Regions from separate parts of the Homo sapiens genome. Here region 2 is linked to region 1. Evidence: promoter capture Hi-C in human tissues and cell types (Jung and others, 2019). All regions are on one chromosome and are shown on one strand. Each heading gives the region's core, a stretch centred on a gene start or on the middle of the fragment in contact. The rest is flanking DNA. Distances are from core to core; before and after follow the strand shown. Region 1 holds the start of RNF157 (ring finger protein 157). Region 2 has its middle 5.0 kb from the start of WBP2.

The links. The method cuts DNA at HindIII sites, captures the fragments that hold promoters and counts their contacts. A contact is called where the count stands out against the background at its distance.
Region 2: a fragment that was not itself captured here is called in contact with the fragment with the promoter of RNF157 in region 1 in 1 of the 25 tissues and cell types used here (heart right ventricle).

What each region holds. Positions count from the first base shown.
Region 1 is chr17:76,235,653-76,241,742 of GRCh38, forward strand. It overlaps RNF157 (ring finger protein 157), which reads right to left and starts at 4,841. Exons shown (of 19, transcript NM_052916.3): 1 at 4,501-4,841. The coding sequence starts at 4,588. It overlaps LOC105371896 (a long non-coding RNA gene), which reads right to left. Exons shown (of 6, transcript XR_007065913.1): 6 at 5,210-6,090. RefSeq lists an enhancer at 3,809-4,481 and silencers at 4,786-4,925, 4,946-5,015. The HindIII fragment of the contact is 11,074 bases long and covers 1-6,090 here.
Region 2 is chr17:75,857,049-75,863,707 of GRCh38, forward strand. No RefSeq gene overlaps it. Among named protein-coding and RNA genes, the nearest start is that of WBP2, 5.0 kb to the left of the region's middle. The HindIII fragment of the contact is 4,574 bases long and covers 1,566-6,139 here.

The DNA of each region.
Region 1 (6,090 bases), core at 3,591-6,090:
TTGACAAGAATATGTGTACTCTAAAATAACAAAAATTTGGAGAATGATGATGTAGACAGATGTGATACATCTATGGCTGGGTACGGTAGATCACTTCTGTAATCCCACTGCTTTGGGACCCCGAGGTGGGAGGACTGCTTGAGACCAGGAGTTCAAGACCAGCCTGGGCAACACAGTGAGATACTGTCTCTACAAAAACTTTAAACATTAGCCAGGCATGGTGGTATGTGCCTGTAATCCCAGCTACTGAGGAGGCTGAGGCAGGAAGATCGCTTGAGCCCAGGACTTTGAGGTTACAGTGAGCTTTGATAACACCACTGCACTCCAGCCTGGATGCCAGAGTGAGACCCTGTCTCTAAAAATAAATTATTTAATTTTTTAAAATCTACAATCAGTTGACTTTAAGTAAAGGAGATTATCCTTGATTATGTGGGTGGGCCTCTAGTCAGTTGAAGGCCTTAAAAGCAAAAACCCGGGTTTAACCAAGCTAGCTGGTCAGGACTCTGATTACCATTCTGAATTTCTGTAGTAGGTTTACTTCTTAAAGACTTCAGCAAAACAAATTATTCCTATTTTCCAACTTGCCCAAGTATGTGGAGGGAAACAAACTAGATTTATGAGGTACTGCTTTATATAAATTAAACTGTCTTTATATTATGCCTATTTCTTCCTGGATAGAGAAAACAGGCTTTTATCAATGTGGACTTTTATCAACGTGGATACTTCTGTCAAAAGATGAGCTTCATAAAAGCAACCATCTCCGCAAAGCCATACCTTTCTTTGCTAAACAAATGATCTTGGGCTTTTAAAGATGCAAAGATCTTAGAGAAGCATGTATGACTTCTAACTCAAAAATTACAAAAGTACATCCAAATACAGTAGAACCGTGCTCTAAATTGCTTTCTATGCTAATGTAGAAATGCTATACAGAAACTCCCACCATACTTTCTATTACTTAAATGATTAATATTCACACAATTATTAATAAATCTAAAAATCACCTAATGCATAACATTATTCATTGTTGCACTGTTTGCAATAGTAAGATACTGAAAAAACAACTCACAGATGTTTATCAACAGGAGACTATGTAAAAAAAAAGATGGCATATGCATGCAGAGGAATACTATATAGTTGTTAAAAAGCACAAAGAAACTTATCAAATATGAGACAATATAAAAAGATCTCCAATATCTCTGAAAGCAAACAGAGCAAGGTGTAGAACAGTCTAATAGCATGCTATGCTTGCATTTACACAAGAAACTCTAAAAGAATTCCAAAGAAACCAAAAGTGGTTACATGGGATGGGAGGTTTAGAGGGAGGAAGGAGAACCAGGTGGATGGACAACAGCGGTGAGAACAAGGCTTTCACTGTACACGTTTTCATTCTTTTAAAGTTTGAACCGTGTGACTATATTACCTATTCAAAAATAAATAATTCTAAATAATTTAGGCTATTTATTTCTATCTACCTCTATTTAAGGATAGAAAAAAGCTACAAACCCAAGTCTCAACTTGAAATCTGCCATTCTTGATAGGATTTAAATGTTTGTTTCAATGTGCATACAAAACTAAGAAGTTCCATTAAATATACTAAGAAAAAAGCAATTTCAGCTGGACACTGTGACCGTCATTACAAGGACAGATGATGGTGCTTCTTTCCGAAACAACTGTTCCACCGGCAGTGCAGGTCTAGCCGCTTTCCAGCGAGCCAGATAGTGGTCTCAACTTAACACTCAAACTACAAGGTATGTCATCTGGAGAAAGCTGACTCTGCCACTTGCTTTGTTCCACTGTTAGTACTCAGGATAAGGAGACTTCTCAAAATCAACCCAGGTTGATTCCTCTATAGGGACTTCAATTATGACACGAAATAGCCTTCATTCCATAATCATGGAATGATTGTTTTAAGTCTTGTTTTTTGAGTACAAGTTCAAAACCCAATTCCTTGAGAGGTGGAGGCAGACAGTATAGTAGGAAGAACACTAACTGGCTGAGAGACCCTGGCCATACCAATTCATTTCTCTGGGTCTCCATTTTCTTATCAGTGAAATGAATGGGAGGCCAAGGCGGGAGGATTGCTTGAGACCACGAGTTCAAGACCAGCCTGGGCAACATAGTGAGAGAGTGTCTCTACAAAAAACTTGCCTGGGCGTGGTAGCTCACACCCGTAATCCCAGCACTTTGGGAGGCCGAGGCAGGCGGATCACCTGAGAGGTCAGGAGTTCAAGACTTGCCTGGCCAATATGGTGAAACCCCATCTCCACTAAAAATACAAACAATTAGCCGGGTGTGGTGGCAAACACCTGTAATCCCAGCTACTTGGGAGACTGAGGCGGGAGAATTGCTTGAACCCTAGAGGCAGAGGTTGCAGTAAGCCAATATTGCACCACTTCATTCCAGCCTGGGCGTGACAGAGAGAGACGATGACTCAAAAAAAAAAAAAAAAAATTAAACATTAGCTAGGCATGGTGGTCATGGCCAAACTCTGTCAACGGTTCCTTTCAGGACTAATACTGTAATCCCATAAAGAGCCAGGTCAATTCAAAGATCAGAAGAAAGGCGATGCCTCCGTCTAGAGCATATATGCAAGCTCACATAAGGTTTCAAATACACAAAGGTTTGCTGACAGAGACAGGATGTTCTGATTCTATTTTCTATGTTTTAGCTTCAACAGAAATAATGTGGTCCACTTGCTATAAAGACTTCTCTCATGTATAACTTCTGATTTAACATGAATTACAGTTTTACAGTTAAACTTTTAAAACTGGTAGAGAGGAGAGGATTATTTATTGAGTGTGCTAATTAACAAAAGTTTTGGTTTGGTCTATTGTCTTTTTATTATCATCACCCAAGATTCATACTTGTACAAATATGCTTTGGGGAACAGCCTTCCAGAGGTTTACCTATGTTAAGTCCCACATATGAAAGAGCGGTGAATACTTTCCTGAGGCAGCAAACACTATTGAAAATTCCAAGCTCAGCAAAGTATGCTCCATATTTTGATCAATAAAAGCCATGTGGTTTAAGAAAAACAGAGCCCACAAATACTGCTGCATATTTTTGTCTATTTTAAAAAGTTTTCCTCATGCCGCCCTAAGAATATTTTTGTCTATTAAAAAACAAAATCTATGCCTTGGTTAGCGTTGATTTTATGTAGTCATAATCAGTCAGAGCTTTATTAAAATACTAACGACCCACAGCTTTATCTTAGACCTTTCTAAAACAATTCTTCACCATATTCATCTTTGCAAGGATTCATTCTTTGGTACAAAAGCAGTGAGAAACACAGCTCTGGCAGACACTCTGCAGGGATGCGGGCAGGTTCATCGTCTGGCCCCTGCTTTCACCTGGCAGACACTGGACACACTGCTGAGAAACCAGCTCATCTCAGTATGTCTCTATTCTACCAAAAAGAGACGAGGCTCTGCTCCAATTCTGACACCTCATTCCGAAATCACCAAAATCTCCATCGGGTCCTAAGCAGACAGAATGTCGCAGCCATTCATCCTCAGAAGTCTTGAGAATAAAATTAAAAGTAATTAATTAAAATAAAACTACTTGCAATTAAAAGTAAACACCGGCTAGGTCATGCAATTCATACTGGCCGGTGCTCACATAACTGAACTACCTTGTGATTCTCTGCTTTGCTGTCAAAATCCTCCTCCACCTCCAATGCTGATACCACAATCCAGAGGCTAGAGACATTTAAGTGAAGGGATGATTCTAATAACAAACATACTTCTATACGTTTCCAATACCTCTGCCCTGTCCCAGAGCTGGTCCCACTCCAAAACCCAGGCTTGCCACTACGCTAGCAAAGGGGCAATCCGAGTAACTCTGATACTCAGATTCCCAAACATTTCTGTTACTTTCCACCACCACCACCCCCCCCACCCCCCGGCTTCTGACAGCCTCTGCAAAAGCACCAGCACTGCAAATGCCTGTTTGGCTTCCATCCTTCAGCAGGCAATGGAAGCTTTTCCAGGAGAAACCTAATTCTAACCTTTCCAGAGGCCAGGAGACGGCAGCGCAGGGATAGCACCTGGCGCAAGTGCCTGTTTGGATGCCGAGGTCGCCTCCCTCGCGGCCCTCGGACCCCGCGAGGCAGGTAGGCTTTGGGCCGGGCCGGCCGGGTCCGTGCGGGGCGCCGACCTCGCCTACGACGCCGCAGCCCCGCTCCCCAGGAGCCTCGGTCCCTGCGGGCACGCGTCCCCGTCACGGGGCCGATTACAATGGAGGCCGCTCCCGTCCTCCCGTGGAGGGGCTCGGTGCCCTCGGTGACCCTGCTAGACCCGGCAGGACGCCCCTTGGGCTAATTCGCCCGGGGCGGGGGAGACCTCGGCCTTCTCGAAGACCTCCCGCGCTCGAAGACCGTTTCGGAGCGTCCGCAACCACTGAGTCCCCGAAGACCCGCGGGGCCCCCTCAGGCCGTCCCGACCCAGACCCCTGCCCCTGCCCCTCTCCCTCCTCGCGGCTGCGGCGCCCGCCCGCCCTCACCGGACTTGGGCGGGTAGCGGTACACGGAATTAGACGGGATGTCCACCTCCTCCACGCCCGCGTGCTGCCGGCTCGTCAGGGCCCCCATGGCCGCTGCGGCTGCAGCCCCGGCCCGGCCCCGGTGCCCGCGCCGCCCTCCGCGCTTCACCGCGGCCGCCCGCCCCGCGCCCGGTGCGGGGGCCGACTGCCCGCCGCGGCCGGCTCCGCTGCGGCGCTGCGGCTCTGGCGGCGGGGAGCCCCCGGCGCGCCGCGCACCATCCTCCGCCGGGCACCGCGGCGGCGCCTCTGCCAAGGGGGCTGCGGGTCTGGGCCGGGGGCGCCGCCGCCGCCTCAGGCCGCGTGATGTCAGCGGCCGCTCCGCGCGGGGACCGCGGCGGCCCCAGCCAATGGCGAGGCGGGGCGGGAGCGCCCGCGCCGGAGCAGCCAATGAGCGCGGGACTGCAGCAGGAGCCGGCGGCGCGTGCCTCGCGCGGGGAGCCGCGGCTGGACTCGGCGCGCGTGGACGCGGCCCAGGGCCTCGCGGCGGGGGCGTGGGCGTGGGCGGGGACTCGCGACGGGGACGGGGGCGCGGCCGGGTGCCCGCGGCGGGGCGGGGCGGGACCGGCCGGAGCTGGGACCCCAGGAGACGAGCGCTGCACCCGGCCGGGACGCGTCGCCCCTCCGCGCCTGTTTATCCCGGCTCGGATTACCGCGCAGGGAGCCGCCCCCTCCCGCGGTCCGCGAGGACTGGCCGGGAGCTCGCTCGCCATTGTCCTGGGCGTCCCAAAGCGGGCGGTCCCCGCTCCGCTGCTCCCGCGCCTGGAGGAAGCCTTCCCAACCCCGCCCCTCAGCGTCGGCCGGCGGAGGTCTTCGGAAATCTCATGCAGGGGGGTAGGGAGAGGGGTCCCACGGTGCATTCGCATGTCTCCTGCCCCGTGTTAATGCTGGTGACCGGCTAGGAAGATGCCGCCTCCCTCTCACGTGCGTCTATTCAAAGCGCTCCCAACTCTATACATGCTGTTTAAGGCTCCTTGTAGCCCTAAAGTTAGGAGAACATCGACTGAGGATAAGATCAAGACATCCAGCCTCTGTCTGTATCGTGGAAACGGGACCCCGGAAACTTTGGAAAGGCCTGAGTGCCAAGAGAGTCAACGCAGGCGAAAGCGAACCGGGCCAGGCAGAACCGGGAGCTCCTGTTGATAAAAACACACACAACAGTGGGAAGCTTGGGCCGGCGGAAGACGTCATTCCATTGCTTAATTACAGACATTTGTGTTTTAAACCTTCTATTTTCTTTGTGGGTCTGGTGTTTTTTTTCCTGAGAGAGTGGACTGATCAGCAAACATTTCAACTGCTAGAACATGACTTTCACAACTTTTCAACAGTGTTCGAAGTACAGTTTGGGGTGTCTGGTTCCCTTGATTAGGTTTGTAAAGCTATTTTACGGAGTCTAGGTCTTTCCTGGTTATATTTTGTTTTTGTTTTTCTGTGTTTTGAGACGGAGTCTCCCTCTGTCGCCCAGGCTGGAGTGCAGTGGCGTGATCTCAGCTCACTGCAACCTCCGCCTCCTGGGTTCAAGGGATTCTCCTGCCTCAGCCTCCCGAGTAGCTG
Region 2 (6,659 bases), core at 2,603-5,102, 380 kb before region 1:
AGTCCCAGCTACTTGGGAGGCTGAGGCAGGAGAATGGCGTGAACCCGGGAGGCAGAGCTTGCAGTGATCTGAGATTGCGCCACTGCACTCCAGCCTGGGTGACAGAGTGAGACTCCATCTCAAAATAAAATAAAATAAAAATAAATAAATAATATGTAAATTTAAAAAAGAAAAGCAGGCCGGGGTTTGTGGCTCACGCCAAAGGCGTGAGCCAAATTCCAGCACTTTGGGAGGCCAAGGCAGGTGGATCACCTGAGGTCAGGAGTTCAAGACCAGCCTGGCCAACATGGTGAAACTCCATCTCTACTAAAAATACAAAAATTAGCCGGGCATGGTGGCGGGCACCTGTAATCCCAGCTACTCGGGAGGCTGAGGCAGGAGAATCGCTTGAACCTGGGAGGCAGATGTTACAGTGAGCCAAGATCATGCCACTGCATTCCAGCCTAGGCGACAGAGCAAGACTCCATCTCAGAAAAAAGAAAAAGAAAAGCAAAATCCAGGCCTGGTGCCGTGCCTGTAATCCCAGCACTTTGGGAGGCCAAGGTGGGTGGATCACTTGAGGCCAGGAGTTTGAGACCAGCCTGGACTACATGGCAAAATCCCATCTCTATAAAAATACAAAAATTAGGCCGGGCGCGGTGGCTCACACCTGTAATCCCAGCACTTTGGGAGGCCAAGGTCGGCGGATTACCTGAGGTCAGGAGTTCAAGACCAGCTGGCTAACATGGAGAAACCCCGTTTCTACTAAAAAATACCAAAAACTAGCCGGGTGTGGTGTTGTGCGCCTGTAAGCGCCTGTAATCCGCGCGCCTGTAATCCCAACTACTCGGGAGGCTGCGGCAGGAGAATCCCTTGAACCTGGGAGGTGGAGGTTGCAGTGAGCCGAGATCACGCCATTGCACTCCAGCTTGGGCAACAAGAGCAAAACTCCATCCCAAAAAAAAAAAAAAAAACGCAAAAATACAAAAATTAGTTGTGCATGGTGGCGTGGTTCCTGTAATCCCAGCTAATAGGGAGGCTGAGACATGAGAATTGTTTGAACCTGAGAGGCGAAGGTTTCAGTGAGCCAAGATCGTCCCAGTGCACTCCAGCCTGGGCAACAAAGGAAGATTCTGTCTCAAAGAAAAGAAAAAGAAAAAAAGGAAAATCCCCCCAGCAAAGAGCAGGCAGCATTGGCTGCTCTAAGGACCATAAATGGGAAGATGGGGACAACCTGCCCACCCCTCTCCCACCCCTTTGCCAAATACGTTGGAGACAGGAGCAAGTTCAGGTTTTGCCAGGCCTTGAAGCTTATACAATTTTGGAGGCTGTCTTGGTTGTTTATGTTTTTGTTTTTTGAGACAGGGTCTCATTCTGTCACCCAGGTGCGATCATAGCTCACTGCTTCCTTGGAACTCCTGGACTCAAGTGATCTGGAGGCTCTTTTTAAGAAATAAAATACACAGGCCGGGCGCAGTGGCTCATGCCTGTAATCCCAGCACTTTGGGAGGCTGAGGAAGGTGGATCACCTGAGGTCAGGAATTTGAGACCAGCCTGGCCAACGTGGTGAAACCCCGTCTTTACTAAAAATACAAAAAATTAGCTGGGTGTGGTAGCGGTCACCTGTAATCCCAGCTACTCGGGAGGCTGAGGCAGGAGAATCGCTTGAACCCTGGAGACGGAGGTTGCAGTGAGCTGAGATCAAGCCACTGCACTCCAGCCTGGGCAACGAGAGGAAAGCTCTAACTCAAAAAAAAAAAACAACCCCACAATTATTCATTCACAATACTGTGGCTACAGTGAGGCCTCCTGACAGGAGGGGAAATGACAAGAAGAGGAAGTTGCAGTGCAGAGATAACAAGCTTGACCAGCTCCGGCTACAATGTCCAGAATTTCTAAGTTTTACAAAAACATATGACCATGTGAACACACTTCCTGGGCGGCTCCCATGACTTTGGGGCTGGAACGTACCAGAACTCAAAACTCAAACCGAAGACTTCAACAATGGTTTATTGCTGAACCAGGTGAGCAGCAGGAGGCTCCCCTGGGCCCAGGTCTCAGTACTCAGACCTCTCCTCTGGCCTCATACTCCTGTCTGCCTGTCTCCAGATCTCTTTTTCACTGCAGTATGATGCTCATATTCTCCACACTGGAGCACATCTTAGCGGTGCGCTAAGGAGGAGTGCAGGTTGGCCTCAGATACCAGCAGGCAAGGTCTGGGGCAGCTGAGCCCCTGAACTGGTCACCTGTTTTTTCTGTTTATAATTTTATTTATTATTTATGTATTTATTTTTGATACAGGGTCTTGCCCGTCTCCTGGGGTGGAGTGCATTGACATGATCTCTGCTCACTGCAGCCTCCGCCTCCCGGGTTCAAGCAATTCTCATGCCTCAGCCTCCAGAGTAGCTGGGACTACAGAATCGTGCCACCACGCCCAGCTAATCTTTGTATTTTTAGTAGAGATGGGGTTTCACCATGTTGGCCAAGCTGGTCTCAAATTCCTGACCTCAAGTCATCCGCCCACCTAACACTCCCGAAAGTGTTAGGATTACAGGTATGAGCCACCGCCCCCGCCTGGTCGCCTCTTGACTCCCAATAAGATGAATCTGTTTGCCCCAGTGAGCCAAATAAATACCATTTTCACTGAACAAATCATTTTCTGTGTGTGCCATGACATAAAAGAGGTTGGCAGGCCCGTAGAGGTGGCTCATGCCTGTAATCCCAGCATTTTGGAAGACTGAGGCAGGAGGATTGCTTCAGCCCAGGAGTTTAAGACCATCCTGGGCAACATAGTGAGACCCTCCCTCTAAAAATTTAAAAAAAAAAAAAAAAAAAAAGGTTGGCAGCATTTACCAAACGGTGGCTGTTTTTCCTTACCTTGACCCACAGTAAAAATATATAGGGCTTGAGCCCAGGAGTTTGAGACCAGCCTGGGTGACAGAGCGAGACCCTGTCTTACATTGTCACTCAGGCTGGAGTGGTGCAGTCATGGCTTACTGCACCTTCAACCTCCCGGGCTCAAGCAATCTTTTTACGTCAGCCTCCTAAGTAGCTGGGACTACAAGTGCACATCACCATGCCTGGCTAGTTTAAAAAATTTTTTTGGTAGAGATGGGGTTCCATTATGTTGCCCAGGATGGTCTTGAACTCCTGGCATCAAGCAGTGGTCCTGCCTCAGCCTCCCAAGTAGCTGAGAGTACAGGCCCTGCCACCACCACATGCTGCTTAATTTGTATTTTGTAGTGGGATATATTCTGAAATTTTCTGTTTTATTTTGTCATCTTAAAAAATTGCTGCAAGCAGCCGGGCGCAGTTGCTGACGCCTGTAAATCCAGCACTTTGGGAGGCCGAGGCAGGCAGATCACGAGGTCAGGAGATCAAGACCATCCTGGCTAACACGGTGAAACCCTGTCTCTACTAAAAAAAAAAAATACAAAAAAATTAGCCGGGTGTGGTGGTGAGCACCTGTAGTCCCAGCTACTCAGGAGGCTGAGGCAGGAGAATGGCGTGAACCCAGGAGGCGGAGCTTGCAGTGAGCAGAGATCGAGCCACTGCACTCCAGTCTCGGCGACAGAGTGAGACTCCGTCTCAAAAAAAAAAAAAAAAATTGCTGAAAGGGCCGGGCTCGGTGGCTCGCACCTCTAATCCCAGCACTTTGGGAAGCCGAGGCGGGCAGATCACCTGAGTCAGGAGTTCAAGACCAGCCTGGCCAACATGGTGAAACCCCGTCTCTACTAAAACTACAAAATTAGCCGGGCATGGTGGCGCAAGCCTGTAATCCCAGCTACTCGGGAGGCTGAGGCAGGAGAATAGCTGGAATCTGGAAGACGGAGGTTGCAGTGAGCCGAGATGGCGCCATTGCACTCCAGCCTGGGCAAAAAGAGTGAAACTCAAAAAAAAAAAAAGTGCTGCCGGCGTGGTGGCTCACGGCGGACACTTGAGGTCAGGAGTTTGAGACCAGCCTGGCCAACATGGTGAAGCCCCCATCTCTACTAAAAATACAAAAAGTTAGCCGGGGGTGGTGGAGCGCACCTGTAGTCCCAGCTACTCAGGAGGCTGAGGTGGGAGGATTGCTTCGCTCAGGAGGCAGAGGCTGCAGTGAGCTGAGTTCGCACCATTGCACTCCAGCCTGGGTGACAGAGTGAGACCCCCATCTCAAAAAACAAAACAAAACACCAAAATCAACAATAATACAGAAGCTTGAAAGAGGAGCCCCAGGGTACTAAAACCCAGCCCTCTGAAGAGCGGGCCTGGGCCGGCTGGTGCTGGTGCCCGTGCCTCTGAAGGGAGCTCAGGGTAGCTGGTTCTGCAAGGGTTGGAAAAAGTAGAAACTGGATTCAGCTGCTGCTAAAGAACTGCAGCTGCCCCAATGAAGAAGCTTTCCTGGGTACAATACAGGCAAAAATAGTGAGCAGATGGGAGGCTGGGGCCTTCTCCAGCCCTTCAGGCCTCTCTAGCGCCCCCTCTTGGCAGAGCCTGGCAGGGAGCAGCAGGCAATGGAGAAACGTGGCTCTGGGTGCATTGGCTCATGCCTGTAATCATAGCAGTTTGGGAGGCCCAGGCAGGTGGATCACCTGAGGGCAGGCGTTCGAGGCCAGCCTGGGCAACACGGTGAAACCCCATCTCTACTAAAAATACGAAAATTATCTGGGCGTGGTGGCGTGTGCCTGTAGTCCCAGCTACTCAGGAGGCTGAGGCAAGAAAATCTCTGGAATCCAGGAGGCAGAGCTTGCAGTGAGCCAAGATCGCACCACTGCACTCCAGCCTGGGCGACAGGGCAAGACTTCATCTCAAAAAGTAGTAATAAAAAATAAAATTAAGAAAACAAAGACATGTGGCTCTGAGTCCCAGCCAGACCATGAAGCTGAGTTGGGTGGGTGGGTGTTATGAGTTGAGTTCGGTCCCCCCGACTTCAAATTCACATGTTGAAGTCCTGACCTGCAGTACCTCTGAAAGTGACCTTATTTGGAAATAGGGTTGTTGAAGACATCATTAGTTAAGATGAGATCATTAGGGTGGGCCCTAAATCCAGCGTGACTGGTGCCCTTGTAAGAAGGAGAAACTTGGACACAGACACACACGCAGGGAGAAGGCAGGCGGTGCAAAGAGGGAGGCAGAGAGCTACCAAGATTGCTACACGGATTGCTACATATTGTCAACAAACCACCAGAAGCAAGGAGAGCGTCAGGGGACAGATTCGCTCTCACAGCCTCAGAAGGAGTCAACCCTGCCCGTACCTTGATTCCAGACTTCGGTCTCCAGCACTGAGACAATACATTTTGATTGTTTTTGTTTGTTTGTTTGTTTTGAGACGGAGTCTCACTCTGTCGCCCAGGCTGGAGTGCACTGGCGCGATCTCAGCTCACTGCAAGCTCCGCCTCCGGGATTCACGCCATTCTCCTGCCTCAGCCTCCCGAGTAGCTGGGACTACAGGCGCCCGCCACCACGCCCAGCTAATTTTTTTGTATTTTTAGTAGAGACGGGGGGGGTTCCACCGTGTTAGCCAGGATGGTCTCGATCTCCTGACCTCGTGATGTGCCCGCCTCGGCCTCCCACAGTGCTGGGATTACAGGCGTGAGCCACCGCACCTGGCCCATTTTGATTGTTGAAGCCGCCTGGTTTGTGGTATCTTGTTACGACAGCCCAGCGCATTAATATAGTGGGTTTGGAGCTAAGAGTCAAGAGTTTGGCATCATCCCCAAAATGTGCTTGGCCCAGGGCAGTGGGGCCTCAGCTGCAGCTAGAAGCCCTTGGAGCCGGGCGCAGTGGCTCACACCTGTAATCCCAGCACTTTGGGAGGCCGAGGCGGGTGGATTACCTGAGGTTGGGAGTTCAAGACCAGCCTGACCAACATGGAGAAACCTTATCTTTACTAAAAAATATACAATTAGCCAGGCATGGTGGCGCACGCCTGTAATCACAGCTACTTGGGAGGCTGAGGCGAGAGAACTGCTTGAACCCTGGAGGCAGAGGTTGCGGTGAGCCGAGATCATGCCATTGCACTCCAGCCTGGGTGACAGAGTGAGACTCTGTCTCAAAAATAAAAATAAAAATAAAAAATAGAAGCACTTGGGCTCAGACGGTCGGCATCTGAGCAGCAGCAGACCCAGTGGAGAACAGAGTGGAGGCTCTCCCATCTGAGGCCCCGGTGGGGTGGCTCATGCCTGTAATTCCAGCACTTGGGAGGCCAAAGTGGGTGGATCACTTGAAGCAAGGAGTTCGAGACCAGCCTGGCCAACATGGTGAAACCCTGTCTCTACTAAAAATACAAAAATTAGCCGGGCGTGGTAGCGCACGCCTGTAATCCCAGCTACACAGGAGGCTGAGGCAGGAGAATCACTTGAACCCAGGAGGCAGAGGTTGTAGTGAGCTGAGATGGTGCCACTGCACTCCAGCCTGAGCAACAGAGTTGGTGCAGGGAAGAAAGCTCTCCCATCCCCTGGGCACCATGGAATCACCATATAATGCCAGGTGCAGTGGCTCTCGCCTGTAATCCCAGCACTTTGGGAGGCCGAAGTGGGCCAATCACCTTAGGTCAGGAGTTTGAGACCAGCCTGGCCAACATGGTGAAACCCTGTCCCTACTAAAAATACAAAAATTAGCCAGGCATGGTGGTGGGCGCCTGTAATCCCAGCTACTCAGGAGGCTGAGGCAGGAGAATCACTTGAACCTGGGAGGCA